4 separate regions of the Homo sapiens genome follow, and all the other regions are linked to region 1. Evidence: promoter capture Hi-C in 16 types of primary human blood cells and fetal thymus (Javierre and others, 2016). All regions are on one chromosome and are shown on one strand. Each heading gives the region's core, a stretch centred on a gene start or on the middle of the fragment in contact. The rest is flanking DNA. Distances are from core to core; before and after follow the strand shown.

Region 1 (3,310 bases), core at 261-2,760:
CTTCTGTGTCTATGCGTGTCCCCCTTTTCTGTCTCTGATAAGAACACTCTTCGTTGGATTTGGACTTCACCCTAAACTAGAATGATCTCATCTCAAGATCCTTATCTTAATTACACTTGAAAAGACCCTTATTTCAAATAAGGTCACACTCGTAGGTTTTGGCTGAAGATACATAATTTAACCCACGAGGGAGGATATATTTCTAGGCATTTAATCTGGGTGGGATCCCTGAGGCAGGAGGACCTCAGAGGTCACCTGAAAAAGCATATCTCTAAGCATATTCCCTGAAAAACTAGTTCCAAGTGATTTTTTTTCTAGAGGATTTTTTTAAGGGTGGGGGGAGCATTCTGTGTTCAGATAAATTTGGAAAATGCTGCGTATACCTCCCACACTAGAAGATTCACAGTTCACCTTAGTGTATTAAAGGGCTGAGAATTCACGGTAAAGAAGCATTATGTATTTATGGAAAGCATCATTTCCCTAGTTTATTTCACCATAAAACCCCATTTTCTTTCTCATAATCTCCGTAGCATTTTCAGATCATATCAGCCTGTGGAAATTCAAGAGGAATGTTGATGTGAGCCAACCTTGTCTTACTTTAGCTGAGAAGATCAACATCCAGAAAAGGACAAATGACTTATCCAAGGTCACACTGCTGAGAGGGTCGGAAGTTGATTTAAAACTCAGCCTCCTCAAAATGATAGCGATGGAGACACATTAGTTGTTGATGGGGAGAGAGTGGGTATGGCTACACAGAGGTCTCACCAGAGAGATCTGTTTGGTGGGGGAGCAGTTCTGCATTTTACTTGAAGAGGTAGTAGTTACACAAATTTGCATGTGATAAAACAACACAGAATTAGGCACACACATTATACCCACGTCAGTTTCCTGGCTTTGATACTTTACATAAGATGTAACCCTTGGAGGGCCTGGCACGGTGGCTTACCCCTGTAATCCCAGCACTTTCGGAGGCTGAGGTGGGCAGATCACCTGAGGTCAGGAGTTTGAGACCAGCCTGGCCAACATAGTGAGACCCCGTCTCTACTAAACATACAAAAATTAGCCAGGAGTGGTGGCACGCACCTGTGCCAGCTACTCCAGAGGGTGAAGCAAGAGAATTGCTGAAACCCAGGAGGCGGAGTTTGCAGTGAGCTGAGATCACACCACTGCATTCTAGCCTCGGGGACAAGAATGAAACTCCATCTCAAAAAAAAAAAAAAAAAAAAGAGATGTAACCCTGTAACCCTTGGAGGTCAGGTGCCTCCTGCCTGTAATCCCAGTGCTTTCGGAGGCTGAAGCAGGAGGGTTGCTTGAGCCCAGGAGTTCAAGACAAGTCTGCGCAATATAGTGAAACCCCGTCTCTATAAAAAATTAGCCAGGCATGGTGGCACATACCTGTAGTCCCAGCTCAGGGGCTGGGACTATGGGACTACTTGGGAGGCTGAGGTGGGAGGATCGCTGAAGCTCAGGAGTTTGAGGTTGCAGTGAACTATGGTCATGCCACTGCACAGCAGCCTGGGCAACAGAGCAAGGACCTGTCTGGAAAAAAAAATTGAGAGAAATTTGGCAAAGAAAATTGGGACCACTTTGTACTATCTTTGCAACTTCCTGTGAATCTATAATAATTTCAAAATAAAAAGTATGAAAAACTGGTTTCCTGTCTCCAGGTTCCAGAGCTTTTAACACTGTCAAAGGTCATTAGATCAAATTTAGGTTTATGCTCTGCTATTCATATGCTTCTAGTACCCAATAAAAAGCACTGTTTATGGGCTGGGTGCAGTGGCTCATGCCTGTAATCCCAGCGCTTTGGGAGGTTGAGGCAGGCAGATTACCTAAGGCCAGGATTTTGAGACCGGCCTGGCCAACATGGTGAAACCCCATCTGTACTAAAAATAGAAAAATTAGCTAGGCATGGTGGCACACACCTGTAGCCCCAGCTACTTGGGAGGCTGAGGCAGAAGGATCACTTGAGCCTGGGAGGTCGAGACTGCAGTGAGCTGCGATCACTTTGGAGGCTCAAGAAGACAATTTTGTGTTTTGACACAGCAATAGCAGAACTTTCATCAACAATTAGATTCAGAACAGGTTATACTGCACACATTTTTGCCACATGCCCAGCCATCTGGCTTCTCTTGGAATTGTCTCCATCTGCCCCCACCCCCACCCTCATTCACATAATGACTGTGGAACTGGGGGCAGCCATTTGATCCTACTTCTCTGGCTACGGTTGACTGGTTCAGGGGTGGGCACTGATCCAATCTGGGCCAATCAGAGCCCTTCCCTGAGAATTTTCTATTTGGAGCTCAGGGAATCTGTCCGATCCTAGATTGCTCAGGTAGTAAAAGTGTGAGATGGAGATGGGGCCACTGGTGGCCATGTTAGCCCCTTATGTGAAAAAACCTGGTTGAGTGAGAAGGAATGAAGCCAACATTCAAAGGAAAGTAAAGACAGGAGACAGAGAGAAAGTCCTGTTAACCTTGCGATGCCTGTTTCTGTTTGTTTCTGAAATCCAGCTGCCTTACTATGGCCTAGCTACTCCTCCCTTCCTTGGCAACCAAAAAGCTAACACATCTCTCATTTGGGCTGGGGGGTGTTGTTTTGTTTTGTTTTGTCTTAGTTTTCATTGTTTCAGACAAGGTCTTTCTCTGTCACCCAGGCTGGAGTGCAGTGGTGTGAACACAGCTCACTGCAGCCTCGACCTCCCAGGCTCAAGTGAACCTCCTGCCTCAGCCTCAGCCTCCCCAGTAGCTGGGATGACAGACACATGCCATCAAGCCTGGCTAATTTTTAAAATTTTTTGTAGAGATGAGGTCTCACTACGTTGCTGACTGGCCTAGAACTCCTGGGCTCAAGCAATCCTCCTTCCTCACCTTCCCAAAGTGCTGGGATTACAGGTGTGAGCCACAGCACCCAGTGACATCTCTTATTTTGCTCAAGCTAGTTTGAGTTGGTTTATCATCACTTGCAATCCAAAGAGCCTAAAGTAGCCTATAGACCAACTCCCTCATTTTACAGATGAAGAAATGGATCCTGAGAAAGTCCATGACATCCCTAAGGCTGAGGTCAGTGAGTAGCTAGGCTAGAATTAAATTGCAAACATCTTGATGGGAACACTCATTTGTTTTTGCACAGCCGCTCCTCCTGCCACGCCATGTGACATTTCCAAAGCCTGCCAAGATTTCCAAAGTCCTCAGTTGGAGGGAAATGCACCTAAACCTCCTCTTATCCACAAAACAAAGGGGAAAGGATAAAAATAGAAGACCCCTGAAATATAACTGGAGATCTGGGACCTGGGGGATTGGCGCAGGAA
Region 2 (3,310 bases), core at 153-2,652, 210 kb before region 1:
GTGCTGGACCCTGCACTTTGCACGGCCACCTCTTGGTGAGATTGTTCTGCCCACCTACTCCTCATTTATTTATAGGGAGGCTAGGAGGGGCTGCAGCTCCCAAACCCCTCCCCTGGCCTCCTGACATCCCACCTTTAGAAATTTGATTCTTGGGGCCAGCATTTGCCCTCTCTACCCAACCTCATTAAAAAGCAAAATTCCTTGTAAGAGGTAATGGATGAAGTCGGGGGCAGTAGAGTATAGTGGTTCAAGGTGGGAGCTCTGGACGGCCTGGTTCAAATCCCAGCTATGCCAGTGCAGGGGTGGGGATGGGCTCTGGAAAGGGGGACGCATTTAAGTGGATGGATATGGAGGAGAGTCTCCTCAGGTGAATTATTAATCCCTCTTAGGCTCAGATTTCTTGCTTGTAGAACAGAATTGATAATAACTGATTCACAGGGTTGTTGTGATAATTAAATGAGAAAATATACAGAAAGTCCTTAGCACAGCACTGTGTATACCCTAAGTGCTCAAAAAATGTTAGTTGCTAAGAAAGTGACAGTAATGATGGCGATGACCCCAAGGTCTTTAAGTGAATGAGGATTTTGGATCAGAAGACAAAGGCAGACAGAGCAGGGAAATGGGGTGGTTGGTGCAAGGAGACCTGGACTGGGGATTGGCCGACCTAGGTTCAAGACTGGGCTGGGCCACCAACTGACTGAGGACTTCAGACAAGTCCTTCTGGGCCCTAGGCCTCAGTTTCCCCATTAGTGACCTCTAACCCTGTTCTCTTTGGCTTTAAGGGGAGTGGAAGGGAAGGGGTCAGGGACACCACAGACCTGCTTTGTGGACTCCCCAGTTTTGTCCCTGCCTCTCTCCAGAAGGGCCTCGGTTTCCTTTTGCCCAGTACAGAGGCGAGAGCTAGGGCCTGGACGTGTGTGTCCCACTGTGACCCGCCCTCCTGTACATCCCTCCAACAGTGTGCAAGTGGAGCTGTGCTTTGCTTACAACCAGAGTGCCGGGAACCCCAACTACAGGCGAAACATCAGTGAGTGCTGGGGTGCAGCGTAAAAGGGGTACGCTCCCCTGTCCCCTTGCTGACCACCCTGTCTACCTGTAGCCCTGGCCTACACTCTGGAGGCTGACAGGGACCGCCGGCCGCCCCGGCTCCGCTTTGCCGGCAGTGAGTCCGCTGTCTTCCACGGCTTCTTCTCCATGCCCGAGATGCGCTGCCAGAAGCTGGAGCTGCTCCTGATGGTGAGGGAGGAGCAAGGGTCAGGATGAGGGCTCCCAGGTCCCTGGAGGAGGTGGCCAGTGTCCCCCTAGATCAAGGGTGAGGGACGGGGGTCTCCCCAGAGACAGAGGTTGGGGACATCGGTTTGGAAGGCTATTGGTGTGTAGGAGTACAGTGTACAGCACCCACACATGAGGAGTGATGGAGACCCTTGGGGTGGGGATGGGGCCAAAGGGCTTATTACCTCCAAGGAAAGTGAGGAGTGTGGGAGCTCTTGGCTCAGCCCACCTCTGGGAAAAGGGGTCCCTGAGTAGGGAGCAAGGTCAGTCCCTCTCTGGGACATCAGGGTGGAAGGGGAGAGCTCAACCTGGAGACCCTGTGGATGGGGAGGTGAAGGGACTTTTGAGGAGGAGAAGCCCTGTCTCTCCTCTTGGAGGGTCAGGATAGTAGGAAGTCGCAATTTGGCGACCGGACTGGAGGGAGTTCAGCCTAACTGTCAGGTTTTCAGGGTGGGGGGCGGGTCCAGCTCTTCTCTGGGGTTCAGGGTGGTGTGAGGATTCAGCTGGGGCAGGGAGCAGTGCAGGGCCGGGCTCAGCTCACCCTCTCTCCCCAGGACAACCTCCGTGACAAACTCCGCCCCATCATCATCTCCATGAACTACTCTTTACCTTTGCGGATGCCCGATCGCCCCCGGCTGGGGCTGCGGTCCCTGGACGCCTACCCGATCCTCAACCAGGCACAGGCTCTGGAGAACCACACTGAGGTGAGTGGGGCTGGCGCCTGGACTGGAAGACCAGGGGCCAGAAGGGCGGTGGGGCGAGAGGGCACTGGGGGGGGTGGTGCGGCCTTCACACCTCCGGCCACCCCCCAGGTCCAGTTCCAGAAGGAGTGCGGGCCTGACAACAAGTGTGAGAGCAACTTGCAGATGCGGGCAGCCTTCGTGTCAGAGCAGCAGCAGAAGCTGAGCAGGTGGCTGTGGGCCGCCGGCCGCGTTAATCGGCCAAGGGTGGGACGGGGCCTCATTAACTGGCAGGGTGGGGGCGGGGCCTCATGGCAAGGCGAGCCCAGGGACAGGGCTTTAGCGGGAACAGGTGGGATGGTCAGAAACGGGGCTTTCTCCTCCAGGTGCGACTAGAGGACGGGGCCTGGCTGTCCCAAGATGGGCTTTTCTCACCTAGGAGACCCCAGGGGCGGGGCCTAGTTGATCCGGGAGTGCCCTGGGGGCGGGGCTCTTGGCTGAGTCCTGGGCTCCTGCTCTCAGGCTCCAGTACAGCAGAGACGTCCGGAAATTGCTCCTGAGCATCAACGTGACGAACACCCGGACCTCGGAGCGCTCCGGGGAGGACGCCCACGAGGCGCTGCTCACCCTGGTGGTGCCTCCCGCCCTGCTGCTGTCCTCAGTGCGCCCCGTGAGTGCCCGCCGGCCGGCTCAGAGCCCAAGCAGGGCTCCCCGCGTCTTTGCATCCCCATATCCATGTCCTGTGCAGGTGTTGTCGTCTGCCACGTGCCCACCTCCTCTGGTCTGGGCCTTCTTGGGGGCCTTAGCGTCTCTGCTGCTTGGAGAATCCGGCTCTCAAGCTCTAGGGCTTCTGACCTTGCACCACAGAGGAGGGAGGACAAGCCCTACTTTGACCCGACCCTGACCTTATTCGCCTTCTTTCCTCAGCCCGGGGCCTGCCAAGCTAATGAGACCATCTTTTGCGAGCTGGGGAACCCCTTCAAACGGAACCAGAGGGTGAGCACCGGCCACATCCTCCCAGTCCTCCTGGGTCCCTGGCTGCACCTCTGATGAGCTCCTTGTCCTTCCAGCCTCTGCCTGCCTGCTTTCTGGGCTCCCTCGAAGTGGAGAGCCACAGTGCGGGAGGAGAGACTCAGTAGAGGGTGAGAAGAGGCCCAGAAACTAAGACAAATGGGGCTGCTAGGGAGCTGTGCACAAAGCTAGAGCAGGTGGAGGGGAGGAAACCAGTTTGACCAAGCACCAACTGTGTGCCAGCCCCTGAGCCCAACACTGTGCTTCTTTGATATGATATAATTCTCACAGCCTTCTGAGGAGGTAGATGCTCTTTTACAGAAGAGGAAACACACACTTAGAAAGTT
Region 3 (3,310 bases), core at 525-3,024, 190 kb before region 1:
CAGGTATGGCTGGGAGCTGCATGGGGGAATGTAGAGAGAGGAGTCTGGAGAATTAAGCAAAAGTCAATCGACTTGTGACAACTGGAAAGGCTCCAGTAAGAAGAAGAGAGCCATTGATGGCCTAGCACAGTGCCTCATACCTGTAATCCCTGCACTTTGGGAGGTTGAGGCGGGCAGATCACTTGAGGTCAGGAATTCAAGACCAGCCTGGCCAACATGGTGAAACCCTGTCTCTACTAAAATTACAAAAATTAGCCAGGCATGGTAGTACATGCCTGTTATCCCAGCTACTTGGAAAGCTGAGACAGGAGAATCGCTTGAACCTGGGAGGAGAAGTTTGCAGTGAGCCAAGGTTGTGCCACTGCACTCCAGCTTGGACGACAGAGGGAGACTCAATCTCAAAAAAAAAAAAAAAAAAAAAAAAAATAGCCCATTGAAAGGCTGTGAGCAAGGAAGTAATAAGGTCAGATTTGCAGTTGAGAATGATCCCTGAGTCTCGGTTTTCTTATCTATGAAATGAGGCTAAGAATAATAAAATAGAGAATTAAATGAGATAATGCCTGTAAACAGTGCCTGGCATATAGCTTATTATTCATCCAGCTAAGAGGCCCTTCCATATGTGAAGCTTTGCTCTGTGAGGTCTGTATTACAATCACATTCAGTTATAGCTAATTATTTACTTATGTAGCTATCTCTGAAACTTAGAAATGAAATCATCGAGGAAAAAGGCCATTTCTTGATCCTGTCTGTGTTCCCTGTTCCCAGCATAAAGCCTAACACGTATTAGGCTAATGTCACCGAGCAAAGAAAGCATCAAAGTGGCGGGTCGGGCCCTAAACCCACGATGGGAGATACCACATTCGGCCACAAGAGGGCGCGTCACATTTTCTCCAAGAGAAGCTGGGCCGCTGATGAAGGACGGGCTCCGGGCCTCCCAGAGACACTTCACCTCCTGGGATCTTGCTCTAAGGAAGCCCGGTGCGAAGGAGGTGGCTTTCTCAGGTGGTCGCGCTAGATGTCCAAGGCTTTATGTTCGGTCAGATGAGCTGTATAATAAAATGAAAGTGTTAACTGGCATGGACGATAGCTGCTGCCTCCACCGCCACTAGTAGTGATGGTTTTTACTCTGGATGTTTTTCAGTTGGAAAAGCAAACTCCGCCTTTTCCTGAGCCGCTTGGATCTTTGTGGAAGCGGGTGGGCTGCATATATACAGGACGGATTCGTATAGGCTTGCACCCTGGTTCCGAATTTTGCAAATATTCGCAGTCTGGGTCACTGTCATCCGGACTGGGAATCCCCAAGACCCGTTAAGGGAGGATAGGTAACGATCATGACAGGTGAAACAGGTACCTTTGAGTTGGAGAAAAGGGATTGGTTGAAAGCTACCTAGACAACTCTGGAAAGGAAGGGTTAAAAGGAGCCTGCAGGTGAAGGAGATGCGAGGGGGTAGCAAGGGAAAGGCAGGCGTGGAAGAGGAAGCGAAAGGGCTGGCGGGGCTCTGGGAAGGAAGGGGTTAACCCGGGCTTCGCCCCGCGGAGGAAAGGGAGGAGTGAACACAGGGGAGGTGGGAACTCGGCGCGGCCTCCCCAAAACAACAGGCCGCCCCGGCAAAGCGTGGGTTAAGGGGGCGGGCCCGGGGGAAGCCACGTGCCGGGGCGGAAGGCTATTGGTTCGCCCGGAGTTGTTTGTGAGTGGCCATTGGCGACGTCGAGGCGCCATGACGAGCCGATTGGCTGGGCGTTGGAATGCCCGCCAGGGCAAGGGTAGGGAGGAGGCGGCCGAACCGCGTCGCTGGGCCGAAAGGTGCGCGAGCGCTGCCCGCGCGGGGACCACAACCAAAGTCGCGGCCGCCGCAGCCATGCGCTGGGTGTGGGCGCTGCTGAAGAATGCGTCCCTGGCAGGGGCGCCCAAGTACATAGAGCACTTCAGCAAGTTCTCCCCGTCCCCGCTGTCCATGAAGCAGTTTCTGGACTTCGGTACGGAGTGGGCGGGAGGCGGCTGGCAGCGGAGGCCGGCGGGGCGCTGGGAGGGGCAGCCGGGGGCTAGGGGGACGGAGGAGAAGAAAGGCCCCGAGTGACAGAGAAGGGTTGTTTGGAAAGGTACAGGCAGGAAAGAGTTAATGGGGAAGCAGGAACCGGCCGGGGCCTCTCGACGGGGCTGCTGATGGGAATGGGGGGCATTTACAAGGACGGTCCCGAGGTTTCTTCGTGGGCCTCATGAAGGGTCTTGAAGAGTAAGGGGCAGTGAAGCTGTGATGTTACTGCAGGAAGGGAGTAGGGTGGTATCCAGACGCGAAAGGGTTAATGGGAGTTGTCCTCATGACTGGAGGAGTAGGGGCCCCTCCTCCCACCAGAGGAAACCGGGGGTCTGCTGGTGGGAGTGAGGAGGCAGGGTTTAGAGGTGCAGCCATCTGTAGAGAGACCTGGACTGGGCATGAAGGGTCAGACACCCCTGGGCAGAGGGTGAGATTAAGCCAGGGGCAGTTGGGGAAGGGGGCTCTTTCAGAAGATGCCATTGGGAGACAGTGCCCTGACTGGTAGACATCCACCCACAGAAGGAGCTGGACCCTAGCTGCCCCAGTGGGCAAGGACACTTGAAGATCAAATCTGTTCCGGCCTGGCAGCCTCTCCCCAGCTGGGCAGGGGCCCCAGGCACCGTGATGTGGAGTCAAGCCGCCTATACCTCCCTTGGCTGCCCCAGGGCTGCTAGGTCAGGATCGCCCACTACCAGCAACCTGGGGGTGGCCCTGGGGCAGGAGGGAGGCTGTGCCAACGTGGCAGCTGAAATGGGCATTGTGTGGGCCCTGTCTGTCTATGTGGTATTTCCATGGTGCCAGCTGGGGACTGGGGGTGGGGGGCAGTCTCTCAAGAGTTGAGTTGATAGTGCCTAGCTTGGGTTGCAGCTGCGTCAATGATGGGACGGGAACAGAGAGGTGGCAGCCGAGACATAAGGCACCTGTTCCTCAGGACTTGTCTGCCTGCACCCCTGCCCTGCCTGAGTCTTGAGCCTCCCCCATGTAGGAAAGCCTCCTGGGCCCACCCCTAGCCCCCAGCAGCTGTCCCCACAAACTGCACCCTAATTACAGAAACATCACAGCTGTGAGGGGCTCACAGTAGAGTTTGGTCAACTTGTAGTACTATGGGGGAAACTGAGACCTTCAAAAGGATGATGGCATGGCCTGGGTGACAGAGTTGGAAGCAGAGCCTGATGGACTGGAACCCAGGGCCCCTGACCCTGGGCCAAGGCCATATTCGGTCCCCCACCCTTTCCATCTTGACACCAGACAAGGACCGAGGCATTTGGACTCCT
Region 4 (3,310 bases), core at 453-2,952, 160 kb before region 1:
ACTCTGAAGGCAGGGAGACCCGCTGGAGGCTATTGAGGGCCGGTGGCAGTGGGCATAAAGATTACAGATTAAGCTGAGAGCCCTTCAGGATGCAGGCCTGAAGAAGCTGACACCGAAGAAGCTGACAGGATTTGGGGACCTGCTGGACTAGGAGGTGAGGGAGGAGGGGTCTAGGATGGCTGTGGACCTTGGCTTGAGGCAGGAAGCCCTGGAGCAGGTGGGGGTGGGGACGGATGAGATCAGACTTGGACCCAGTGCGCTGATGGTAGTGGCAGGCCAGCCAGGGAGGCAATGTAGGGATCCACAACCAGCTACCGCACGTCACAGCTTGGCAGGTGCCAGGCGCTCTCAGATCATCTATTGTCACCCTCACAATAAACCCACAAGGTGGGTGTTTCCATTACCCACTGCCTCAGAGAAAACAGAGACTTAGAAGAAGGAAAGTGCTTTGCTCAAGAGCAAGTGGTGAAAGGCCAGGCGCAGTGGCTCACGACTGTAATCCCAGCACTTTGGGAGGCCAAGGTGGGTGGATTACATGAGGTCAGGAGTTCGAGACCAGCCTGGCCAACATGGTGAAACCCTTGTCTCTACTAAAAATACAAAAATTAGTCAGGCATGGTGGCGCTACTCTGGAGGCTGAGGCATGAGAATTGCTTGAACCTGGGAGGTGGAGGTTGGAGTGAGCTGAGATTGTGCCACTGCCTTTCAGCCTGGCCAACAGAGTGAAACTCAAATCTCAAAAAAAAAAAAAAAAAAAAAAAAAAAAAAAAAAAAAAAAGGCAAGTGGTGAAGCTGGATCAGGGGTCTAGAGTCAGAGGAGAGGTGTGGAGTCTATAGGACAGAGTTCCCTGATGGCCCACAGGACTCTGCAGTCCGAGGCCTCCGGGAAGTGGCCTGTTGAACCAGGACAATCTTGTGACTATGAGTGAGGACAGAATTAACAGCCTTTAGGGTCTGAGGGTATCCTAGGGGATTTATAGGAGTTTGGGGGTCTCTGGGTGTCTTCAGAATCTTCTGGCAGCCATGAGGCTAGATTGTGGAAATCTGGGGAAGGGGTGGGGTTTCTGTTGACAGCTGTGGGGGCTGCATCTGGCTGTCTTAAAGGGGTTGTGCTTTGTAGGCATCTGGTGAGATCTGAGTGGTGGGCTGTAGTGGGGGGCTTGATTATATAGACCCTGTACATCCCAAGGGGGTGGGGAGATGATGGGTATGTTTGCCAGGCCATAGGACCCAGGAGGAGCCCCTGTTCCCCTATTCCTAGTGAGGCCTAAGCTTCTGAGGGTTGGCAATAAGTTGCCTTATTGGCAAGTGTTGGCAAACCTACTCAAGCTTCCAAAATTGGGCAAGTGAGTGGGGGGATAAGGAGGGTTTAAGGTGACAGGCCCACTTACAGCTACTTGACAAAGTCCCAAACATGGACATACTGTGTATCATGGGCAAGTCACAGCTCAGGCTTGAGAAACTCACAGCAAAGCCACACACACCTCCAGGCACACAACACACTTGGGCTTAAATGTGAGGGGTTACTTGGCCCACTGTTTGAAACATACTATGTATAGGCCCCTCACCTAACACACAGGACAGACGGGGAGTGGGGGAGGGACAGAGGGACCCCGCCCTGGATGCTTAGCCCCCATCGGCCCAGCAGAAACCCTCGAAACCTTCATGCCTGCCTCCCCACCCAGATTAAGACTACAGATTACAGGAAGGTCATGCCACTTCACTTCTTGGCTAGGTTTCCTGAGCAGGGCCTTGGTGGCCCTGGGGTTCAGTGACTTCTAACTCTGGAGCCATGACCTCTGACCCTGTGGTTTGGTGGTCTCTGATCTTGGGGATCAGACACCTTGATCCGTCTTCAGCATCCTTAGGGCTCCCAGAGTGTTCCAACAATCGTCCACATAGCAAAGATGCCTTGGGAAGAGTATTCACTATCCCCAGGTTTCCAGGCAACCCTCAGGTGGGAGGCAGGATTGGACTGGCCTGAGGTGTAGACCTAGGGTTTTTGAGGGATAGCTATGGGAAGCCAGAATTTGGCTTAGCATGAATGTGACCTGTGTGACACAGCCATCTACAAGGGAAGCTTCTGGAGCAGACTGTCCCTGGGGGTGCTGCCACTCATCTGGATGTTGTTAAGGACCCACCAAGGTGACCTTGAAGGGCTCTGAAGTTGGGACTTCATTCCTTATGGCAAAGGTGAGAATTCCCTAGTGCCACACCACTGAGTGCAAGTGCCTCCATGCTTCAGGTCTCTGACATCTGCACACCAGCACCCCGGCAAGGAAAGGCTGGCCCTGGGGCCTGCCATAAGCTCCTGCCCCATTCCCTGCTGGCTCTCACCCCTCTGGGACTTCACCAAAGCTTGTCCCTGGAACTCTGGCACCTAGACTCCCAGACCCATTAGCATTTGAGCTGGTGAGTCAGCACACAGGCCTGCTGGCCCAGCACAGGGGCTGGGGCTATTTCAGGCCACTTGGCCCGCCCCAAAGGGCAAACAGATCCTCTAGGACCCTGGGTACTAAACTGCCAGGCAGTCACCTCCCACCCCCAGCAATCCTTTGATCCTTTACCTGCCTCACACCGGGTGCCTCTTGAGAGTGTCCCCACAGTTTAAAGGCCTTCTGGGGGAGGGACTTGGGGTTCACCTTGCTGTATTTAGCCCATCCTTTGAACTTCTTAGAGGCCCTGAAAAACGAATGCAGACTAAACAAACTCTCTAGAAACCCTCAGCCCTGCCCAGGAGGACTGGACAAAAAGCATGGGTGCTGATGGCTGGAATGGGGGCAGAAAAGCAGTTTGCTGGAACCGGAAACGGGGGGACACTGTAGGAAGTTCCTCAGGGTTAGAGGCAGCACTGGTGGGAGGGGACCACTGGGGCAGCCTGGCATCCTTGATCCCTGCCCACTCCCCACCTCAGTGAATCAAGAAACCAGGCAGCAAGGCTCTGGGGGCTGCTTTTATGGGGACGACCTGACAGAGGGCATGGTCCGTACAAAACCGGGAACAATACATACATATATATATTATATACAGAGATGCGGCCCTCCCGACGGCTGGGCAGGGGTGGCCGCTGGCCCAAGCAGCCCGAAGCGGCCCCGCCCACCCGGTTCCGCCCCCTCCATCTGCCGGGGTGAAGTGCGCGAGCCCAGGACTGAGACAGCCAGCTCCTTCAGGGGATGGGGGCACATCTGGGGATAGGAAGGGGTGGGGACAAGAAATACTGATCGAAGTCATGGTCTATTTACAGGGGACAAGAAGCCAAAACGGATGGGATGGGTGGTCTGTTTTTAAAAAATGAACAAAAACCCAGTTA

What was found. The method cuts DNA at HindIII sites, captures the fragments that hold promoters and counts their contacts. A CHiCAGO score of 5 or more calls a contact.
Region 2: a fragment that was not itself captured here is called in contact with the fragment with the promoter of TMEM92-AS1 in region 1 in 1 of 17 cell types (naive B cells); the score reaches 5.2 in naive B cells.
Region 3: a contact is called between the fragment with the promoter of PDK2 here and the fragment with the promoter of TMEM92-AS1 in region 1, in 1 of 17 cell types (naive B cells). The highest score is 6.1, in naive B cells.
Region 4: a contact is called between a fragment that was not itself captured here and the fragment with the promoter of TMEM92-AS1 in region 1, in 1 of 17 cell types (naive CD4 T cells). The highest score is 5.1, in naive CD4 T cells.

What each region holds. Positions count from the first base shown.
Region 1 is chr17:50,286,345-50,289,654 of GRCh38, forward strand. It overlaps TMEM92-AS1 (TMEM92 antisense RNA 1), which reads right to left and starts at 1,511. Exons shown (of 4, transcript NR_125805.1): 1 at 1,396-1,511. The HindIII fragment of the contact is 15,975 bases long and covers 1-3,310 here.
Region 2 is chr17:50,074,500-50,077,809 of GRCh38, forward strand. ITGA3 (integrin subunit alpha 3) reads left to right here. Exons shown (of 26, transcript NM_002204.4): 10 at 1-35; 11 at 960-1,027; 12 at 1,100-1,236; 13 at 1,827-1,976; 14 at 2,085-2,182; 15 at 2,475-2,622; 16 at 2,880-2,948. Among named protein-coding and RNA genes, the nearest start is that of PDK2, 19 kb to the right of the region's middle. The HindIII fragment of the contact is 5,559 bases long and covers 1-3,310 here.
Region 3 is chr17:50,093,577-50,096,886 of GRCh38, forward strand. It overlaps PDK2 (pyruvate dehydrogenase kinase 2), which reads left to right and starts at 1,775. Exons shown (of 11, transcript NM_002611.5): 1 at 1,775-1,977. The coding sequence starts at 1,860. LOC124904024 (a long non-coding RNA gene) reads left to right here. Exons shown (of 2, transcript XR_007065837.1): 1 at 1-3; 2 at 766-1,077. RefSeq lists enhancers at 934-1,143, 2,175-2,690, 2,691-3,206 and a silencer at 1,524-1,643. The HindIII fragment of the contact is 3,439 bases long and covers 624-3,310 here.
Region 4 is chr17:50,130,797-50,134,106 of GRCh38, forward strand. It overlaps PPP1R9B (protein phosphatase 1 regulatory subunit 9B), which reads right to left. Exons shown (of 10, transcript NM_032595.5): 10 at 2,941-3,310. Among named protein-coding and RNA genes, the nearest start is that of SAMD14, 2.3 kb to the left of the region's middle. RefSeq lists enhancers at 1,614-2,356, 2,237-2,306, 2,357-3,098. The HindIII fragment of the contact is 751 bases long and covers 1,328-2,078 here.